2 separate regions of the Homo sapiens genome follow, and region 2 is linked to region 1. Evidence: promoter capture Hi-C in human tissues and cell types (Jung and others, 2019). All regions are on one chromosome and are shown on one strand. Each heading gives the region's core, a stretch centred on a gene start or on the middle of the fragment in contact. The rest is flanking DNA. Distances are from core to core; before and after follow the strand shown.

Evidence for each region. The method cuts DNA at HindIII sites, captures the fragments that hold promoters and counts their contacts. A contact is called where the count stands out against the background at its distance.
Region 2: a fragment that was not itself captured here is called in contact with the fragment with the promoter of COL4A4 in region 1 in 2 of the 25 tissues and cell types used here (aorta and mesenchymal stem cells).

What each region holds. Positions count from the first base shown.
Region 1 is chr2:227,162,689-227,166,291 of GRCh38, reverse strand. COL4A4 (collagen type IV alpha 4 chain) reads left to right here and starts at 2,087. Exons shown (of 48, transcript NM_000092.5): 1 at 2,087-2,285. COL4A3 (collagen type IV alpha 3 chain) reads right to left here and starts at 1,668. Exons shown (of 52, transcript NM_000091.5): 1 at 1,479-1,668. The coding sequence starts at 1,565. RefSeq lists silencers at 1,435-1,614, 1,835-2,214 and enhancers at 2,485-2,584, 1,859-2,760. The HindIII fragment of the contact is 11,311 bases long and covers 1-3,603 here.
Region 2 is chr2:227,241,039-227,244,543 of GRCh38, reverse strand. It overlaps COL4A3 (collagen type IV alpha 3 chain), which reads right to left. Exons shown (of 52, transcript NM_000091.5): 4 at 180-224. All of the region lies in intron 9 of MFF-DT (MFF divergent transcript), which reads left to right. Among named protein-coding and RNA genes, the nearest start is that of COL4A3, 78 kb to the right of the region's middle. The HindIII fragment of the contact is 3,783 bases long and covers 1-3,148 here.

The sequences.
Region 1 (3,603 bases), core at 838-3,337:
TAGCATTTAAATACCTGGTCTGGGAATTCCTAATGTATGCAAAGTGCATTTTTGTTAGAACCAGCTACACAAACAGATTACATAGATTACAAATGTCCTTTAGAATGTGAAACAGTGAATAATCTAAATGTAAACTGATAGGGAAATGGTTCAATTAACTTTGGCATATTGTGAAATACTGTGCAACAAAGCAAAAAGAAAAACAGGAGGATCTTAAATACTGACATGGACTGGTCTACAGGTTGCAAAGGAATACAGCACAGTATCATTTATGTTAAAAGGCCAACAAAAACATACATATATGTTTGTGGGTTCATATGTGTGTGTGTAAATTCATGGACAATGTTTGGAAAACTACATGAAATATGAAAGTGGTGAAAGTGGACACCTCTTGGAAGACAAGGAAATGGGGAGAGGTATGGGGGGTGTCAGAGAGGGCTTTAGTTTCACCTATAATGTCTGCAATGTCTTCATTTAATTTAAATAGGAAAAACATATAGAACCTATATGTGACCATAGGTTCTAAAATTCTTTTCATGTAACATATATAAATATTTATGTGACCGTTAATTTCCAATCATAATCTCAATGATAACATTTGTAAAAACATCTGCTCATCCTTGGAAATGAAATTTCCTATGCCACGTTATCACCCAAATCAACTTTTTAAAGTGTAAAAATAACAAGTATCTGAAAAGTTAAAGTTTACTTTCACAAGGTAAAATCAAGTGAGTCAACTCTAGGAGGCACAATCGTTTTGAGGACAATCAATTTCTATTTAATGGCAAAGAATAAGAAATATGGGATGGATTTAAATAAATCCAGTTTCACTCAAATTCCAAGTCAAAAATCAAATCAAAGTGTCAGATTGCTTAAATGATTCTAACCTGAGTTCGATTTCTAAGGTGCTCTTAATTTTTCAGTGATAGCATTTGCTTTTCCCAACAATAGCAAAGGAAAACTGGAGGGCAAGTTTTGCAAGGAAGAAACTGAGCCCCAGAGAGGTCAGGGTTTAGTGTGACGTCCCAGCTAGGAAGTGGCGGCTGGGACTCCCTGCAGGTGTCTCCTGCCAGCCCTCTGTGCGCTGGGCCAAGCTGCTTGATTTGATTCACCAGCGTGACACCGTGCATCTCCACATCCGGTGTTCTCACGTATCATCCCTGGCGATTATCTATGTGTCTATTTTTTAATTTACTGACCTCTGGAGGCCTGTCCCCGCCATCCCTGACTCCTAGGCACTGGACAAGCCCCCTCCTCGCCTCTTCCCCCAGCCCCGCGCATTCCACCTGTTCCGGGGCATCCCCGCTTGCTCCCTTCCGCTCGCTGCCTGTCCCGGGACCTGCGTGAAGCCCTCAGCCTCGCCACTAGCCCGGCAGCCGCTCCACTACCGCGCCGCTGCGGGTGGGGCCAGCGCGTCCCCCGGACGCGTGGAGGAGGGATGGAAGTGCGGGGGTGGGGGTCGCGCAGCCCCCACTCACCTTGCTGGCTGCGGGCGCCGCCGCCAGGAGCACCAGCAGGAGCGGCAGCAGGAGCACCTGCGGCCTGGGGGCGGTCCGGGCGCTCATGGTGGGCGCGCGCTCAGAGCCTGGGCGAGTCCGGGGACCCTCAGGCTCTCAGGCCACCGCGTCTCCTGCGCAGCGCGGCTCTGGGAGCCCGGCTGGAAAGCTCGCCTCGCCACTCGGCCGGGGCGGGTTTTGTAGGGCTCGGTCGCGCGGTTCGTCCCTCCCCACCCAGGCTTTTTGGTTGTGGCTTCAAGGGAGGGAAGACGTGGCTCAGGTCCCGCCCTCATACCCCCTCCCTCCCAACTTACCAGGCAGTGTCCCTTCTACCCGGGCATCGTGCCCAGGAGGCGAGAAAGGGCTGGGCGCCTGAGGGGCAGGTGGGCGCGGATCCAGGGTAAGGGGTTAAGGAGGTGATGCTCCCAAGGTCCGGGGGCCCAGGCGGGGAAGTGGGGTGCGGTCGGAGGTGGGGCGTTTGGGGGTGTGCGGTGGGGAGGTGGCTGCGCGGTGGGGAGGTGGCTGCGCAGGGTGGAGGGAGTGGCCAGCGGCCCTGCCCAGATTAAGCGGGAGGCGCGCCGGGCGTCTGCACTCGGGAGGCCCCGCTTGTTCCCCGCGCCCGCGGCGGTCCGCGTTCCCCGCCTCCAGCCCGCCTCCAACTTGCGGCCGCCGGGCTTGGCTGCGAGAGCGCCGCGAAGAGGCAGCGGGGCGCGGGTGGATTGGGGCTGGAGGTGCGCGTCCCGTGGGGTGGCAAGGCGGCAGCTCCTGGCGCTGCGGGCGTCCCCACAGGTAAGGCGCCCATAGGTGGGGCAACCGCTGTCCCGGGGCCCCGGCACCTGCCTGGGAGGGGCAGTGGAGGGAGCGTGGCATTCAAGGGGTGGTGGCGGGCCCAGCTGGGGAGTTGTGGCCCGGGGGTCACCAGAGGAGAGCGCGTCTGGCTCCTGGGCTTGTCTGCCTGGGCTTTAACTGGGTGCTGTGTGTTTTGATTAATTTGGAGGCTCGAGTTACCGGCCTGGCAGTCGGGGCACTCCAAAATGCCAAGAGAAAGAGGCAGCTGAGGAGAAAGAGAAAGCCCATCTTATTCTCCGCTGAGTTGAACTGCTTTTCAGGCCAAATCTTATCTGCGGAAATGCAGGGCAAAACAAGACTCAGCTCTGGTCAGGGTGCGCTCTTCCTGGGGGTGGCCTGCGATGCAAATGTGCCAGGGCACGGTCCTCCAGCCGGCTCTCGCCGTTTCCTGTGCTACGGACCACACTGGCTCTGGTAAAGCAATTAGACTGTTTCTCAGAAGAATGTTGTGAAATGCATAAAATACAATTAAATCAGAATCAGTTTTATTGGAATGCAATTATGGAAGTCCTCAAGTCGTGATATAGTAACTAACACAGGTGCATCATCATTATTGCATTAAATAGCTTGATTTAACAGCAGGCCGATTAAGCAACAGTAATGTCAAAGTAGTGATGTCTGCAAATGGTATTTTGAGATAATAGCCCAAACTGAAATGTGACATGAAAATACCGGTGGGTGCAAATTATCAAGAACTGCCAATACTACTGTGCTCTGTTGCCTGTGCTCATAAGGGAAGGACATGTTGAACTTCTGTGACATGTTACTAAAAGTAAAGATGCAACTTATTTTCCTATGTGAGTTTCCTATACAGATCACCTGAATTCCATCCTCAGGTTAAGAATCTTTGCTTTGGAACAGTGTTGCTGATATTTGCTGCAATTGGCTTCAGACACCAAGTATGATCATGCAGTTGGTCACTGATTTTAGGGAACCACTTGCTTGCAGTTAAATTTGGGATCTATTGGTATCTTAGAACTTTGTAGCCATGCAGGTAGGCAAAACCCTAACAGTGAATGAAGACACTCCTCCCATTCTTTTTATTTTGACTATAGCATGAATCTTACAGTCTTCTTTCTGTCTTTTATGCCAGTGATTCTCAACTATCGTTGTGCATTAGAATCTTTGGGAGGATAAAACAATGTTGCTACCCAGACCATTCCAAGCCAATTTTATCAGACTCTCTAGCTGTTTTAAAATTTCCTGTACATTCCCATGCACAATCAAGTATGAGAGCTCCTGTTTTCACGAACATGTG
Region 2 (3,505 bases), core at 8-2,507, 79 kb before region 1:
ACACTTGCCCCTAATGTGGTAACCACTCCTTTGACATCTACCATTACAGATTAGTATTACCTGTTCTTGAACTTCATCTATGGAACCATACACAGTGTACTCCTTTCTGACATTTGTATAACTCTTACTGTGAAAAGCTGATCTTTTAACGATCAGGGTGGACTGGTTGGACTACTAACCCTTACACCTTTGGAACCCGTGAGTCCTGGAAGTCCTGGAAAGCCCTAGATTCAAGTGAAAAAAGAAAAAGTAAACACTCTGAAAATTATTTGGCACTAAGAAACCCATACATCAAACCCAGTCTCAGTCACATGCCAAGCTGTTTTGCCCTTCTGATTATTTCATTGTTAATAAGATTCAATTGCTTGCTTATTTCATTGGAACTTGATAATTGTTTATCAGAAAAGACAAAAATTCATTCAAACCCTTGCTACTCAAAGTGGGGTTTGGGGCCTGCAGCATTAGCATTACCTGGAAGCTTATCAGAAATGTAGAATCTTAGATCTGCCTCACCTCCCAGACTATTGACCGAGAATCTGCATGTTTAACATGATTCTTTAGTGATTCTTGTGCACATTAAAGTCTGTGCAAAAGTCCTAATTAGCCTCACAGCTGCTGAGGTCTGATAAAAATGAATGACACAACTACAGTTGTGGATGAGAATGCCAGCCAGTATTTCTGTGCACAAGAAACACTCTATTAACAAAATGTGCCTGACATGCACAAGGAAATATATAGCCAAGTAAGGACTGCCTGAACCAGAGATAAACTTGCTTTGGGCATGTAATGCATTCAGTTTCGACGTCCTATTTCTTGGAGAATAAGCTTAAATGGTGACTGTTTCAGCTAGGCCACGTGGTGTGAAAGTTTCATTGTCCAAAAGCCATTTTCATCATTCCAGAGAGTTTCAGTATGTTTTGATTTTTAATTTTATTGTTATTATTTGAGAAAAGGGTTGTTACAGAATCCTCTGAGATTGCACTGTCAAGGCCAAAGTCAGTCTCTCCCATCTATGGCGGAATTCCGGGGTGCATGGCTGTGTTCAAGGCCATTCCCCTTCCCACAGAATTCTATTCACGTGATGCCGAAAGCAGAAGGTTTTACTTGCAGGTTTTACTTTCTCATTGTAAACTTTTTTCATGCAGAAAACATTTAAAATTAAGATAGGAATCTTGTAAATCTAAAACATCTTTTTGGTCAGGTTTTAATATTCTCTAATTGTCTGCCTTTGATTGTATTATCTTTTGTAGCTATTCATACATATCTGTAAGCCTTACATGCTTTAAAATATCAATCTATGACAACATGGTACTCAGGTTTTCTGGATTAATCTTCTGGAATGCCTGCACTCATGTAACCCATACTAAGTGCCATGTGTTTGTGACTATTTTAATGAATTTCAGCATCTCTAAAGAAATGCTGAAGAGAATTAAACAGAGTAGGCTACAGATAACAATTTTTTTAAAAACGGAATTGGCATTAGGCTGATCTAAGTCCAGGGTTGAAGTGGCAAACTCGTTCTACCAATAGAAATGGAAGAAAACCTGGGTCCATGCCTTAGAGGAAGTCAGTGTTCAGTTTCTGCCCAGAATCTGGATGACTTTTTCAAAATTAGGATCGGAAGAAGGAGAAATGGACAAAAAGAACACATACATGGATATGGTAGACAGGGAAATGGCAGGATTACTGGAAAACAGCAAGATTTTGCATTTTACATGTAAGCTGTGGGTGTGGTTTCAAGAGTTTGATTCTGGCATCATATATGTGACATAAGAAACACATATTTGTTCTGTGCCTTTGGTTCCTGACACAGAGCTCCTAAAACCCTTCTAATATTCTGAGTGATAGGGGAGTAAAGACCATCTTTTGTTCTAATATTTGGTGTTTGACCTCACTTGGAATATCCTGGGTGATAGAAGTGTCTTTTGTTCTAAGGAGGCAACTCTTGGTGGGCTCCCAGATGGGGGCTGGTCATCAGAAAGACCAAGTCTTGATTAGAAGCTTGAAACTTTGAGCTCCAGCTGCACCCTTCAGTGAGGAAAGCGGAGCTGGAGATTGAGTTTATAATTGATCCTGCCCACATGATGACACCTCCATAAGAATCCCTGAAGCATGGTGTTCAGAGAGCTTCTGGGTGGGTGAACGTTCACGTTCCAGGACGGTAATGCACCTTAACTCCATGGCGACAGAAGCTCCTGCACTTGGGACCCTTCTGGACCTTCTCCTGTGTATCTCTTCATCTCTCATTCATATCCCTTATAATAAACTGATAAATGTTCCCATGAGTTCTATGAGACTCTTTAGCAAATTATCAAAGCAGAGGAGGAGGTCATGGGAACCCCTGATTTATTTGTAGCCAAGTTGGACGGCATTATGGGTAACTGAGGACCCACTACTTATGACTAGTCCTGAAACAGGGACAGTCTTGTGGGACTGAGCCCTTACCCTATGGGGTCTGCACTAACCCCAGGTATTTAATGTCATAACTGAATTGAGGGGTACCCAGTTGGCATCCAGAGAGTTGGAGAATTGTTTGGTTTGAGGAAAATCCCACACACAGTGTCAAACCAGGTTTGAACTCTGATTTTGCTTCCTGTGAGCTGCGTGACCCAGGAAAAATTACTCAAGTGCTCTGTGTCCGTTTTCTCATCCATGTAGTGGAGGTAATGATGGGAACTACATTGTAAATCACCACAGTCATGATTTGTGGGATTGATGTGAGGAGTAAATGAGATCCAGGGAGAAATAGATGGCCCAATGCCTGGCACAGAGTACATATGCAGTAGGTTGGCTTTGGCTTTGATTATCATTTACATATTTCATACATTATTTTAATACATATATATATATACACACACGTATATATTTTTTTAATGGAGTCTCGCTCTATTACCCAGGCTGGAGTGCAGTAGCATGATCATGGCTCACTGCAGCCTCCGCCTCCAGGGCTCAAGCAATCCTCCTACCTCAGCCTCCTGAGTAGCTGAGACCACAGGCATATGCCACCACACCTGGCTAATTTTTGTATTTTTGGTAGAAACTGGGTCTCCTTATGTTGCCCAGGTTGACCTCAAACTCGTGGGCTCAAGTGATCCTCCTGCCTCAGCCTCCCAGAGCAATGGGATTACAGGCATGAGCCACTGTGTCTGGCCTCTAATACATATTCTAATATATTATGAAATTTGTAAAAGACCTGTATAGATCAATTATAATCATTTTTCATAGCTTATTAGTTGGTTTATAGCTTGCTGGAGGTCAGTAGTCAGGGGAATGAATGTGTGGGTGCGTGAGAAGCCAGGCTTAAGTCTAGCTAATGTCCACAGCAGGAAAGAGTACTCAGCAAATCCAGTGGTTATTCAGTTATTTAGTAAATCCTCTATGGTATTTATTTAAACAAAGCCCTTTGCTGTATCACAGACTTTAGGATAAGAATGTGTGATGAGTGTGAAGGGTCATAGACTCGGGATGTTTAAGGGACCAGAAGGAAAAGAGAAACCCACAAAGG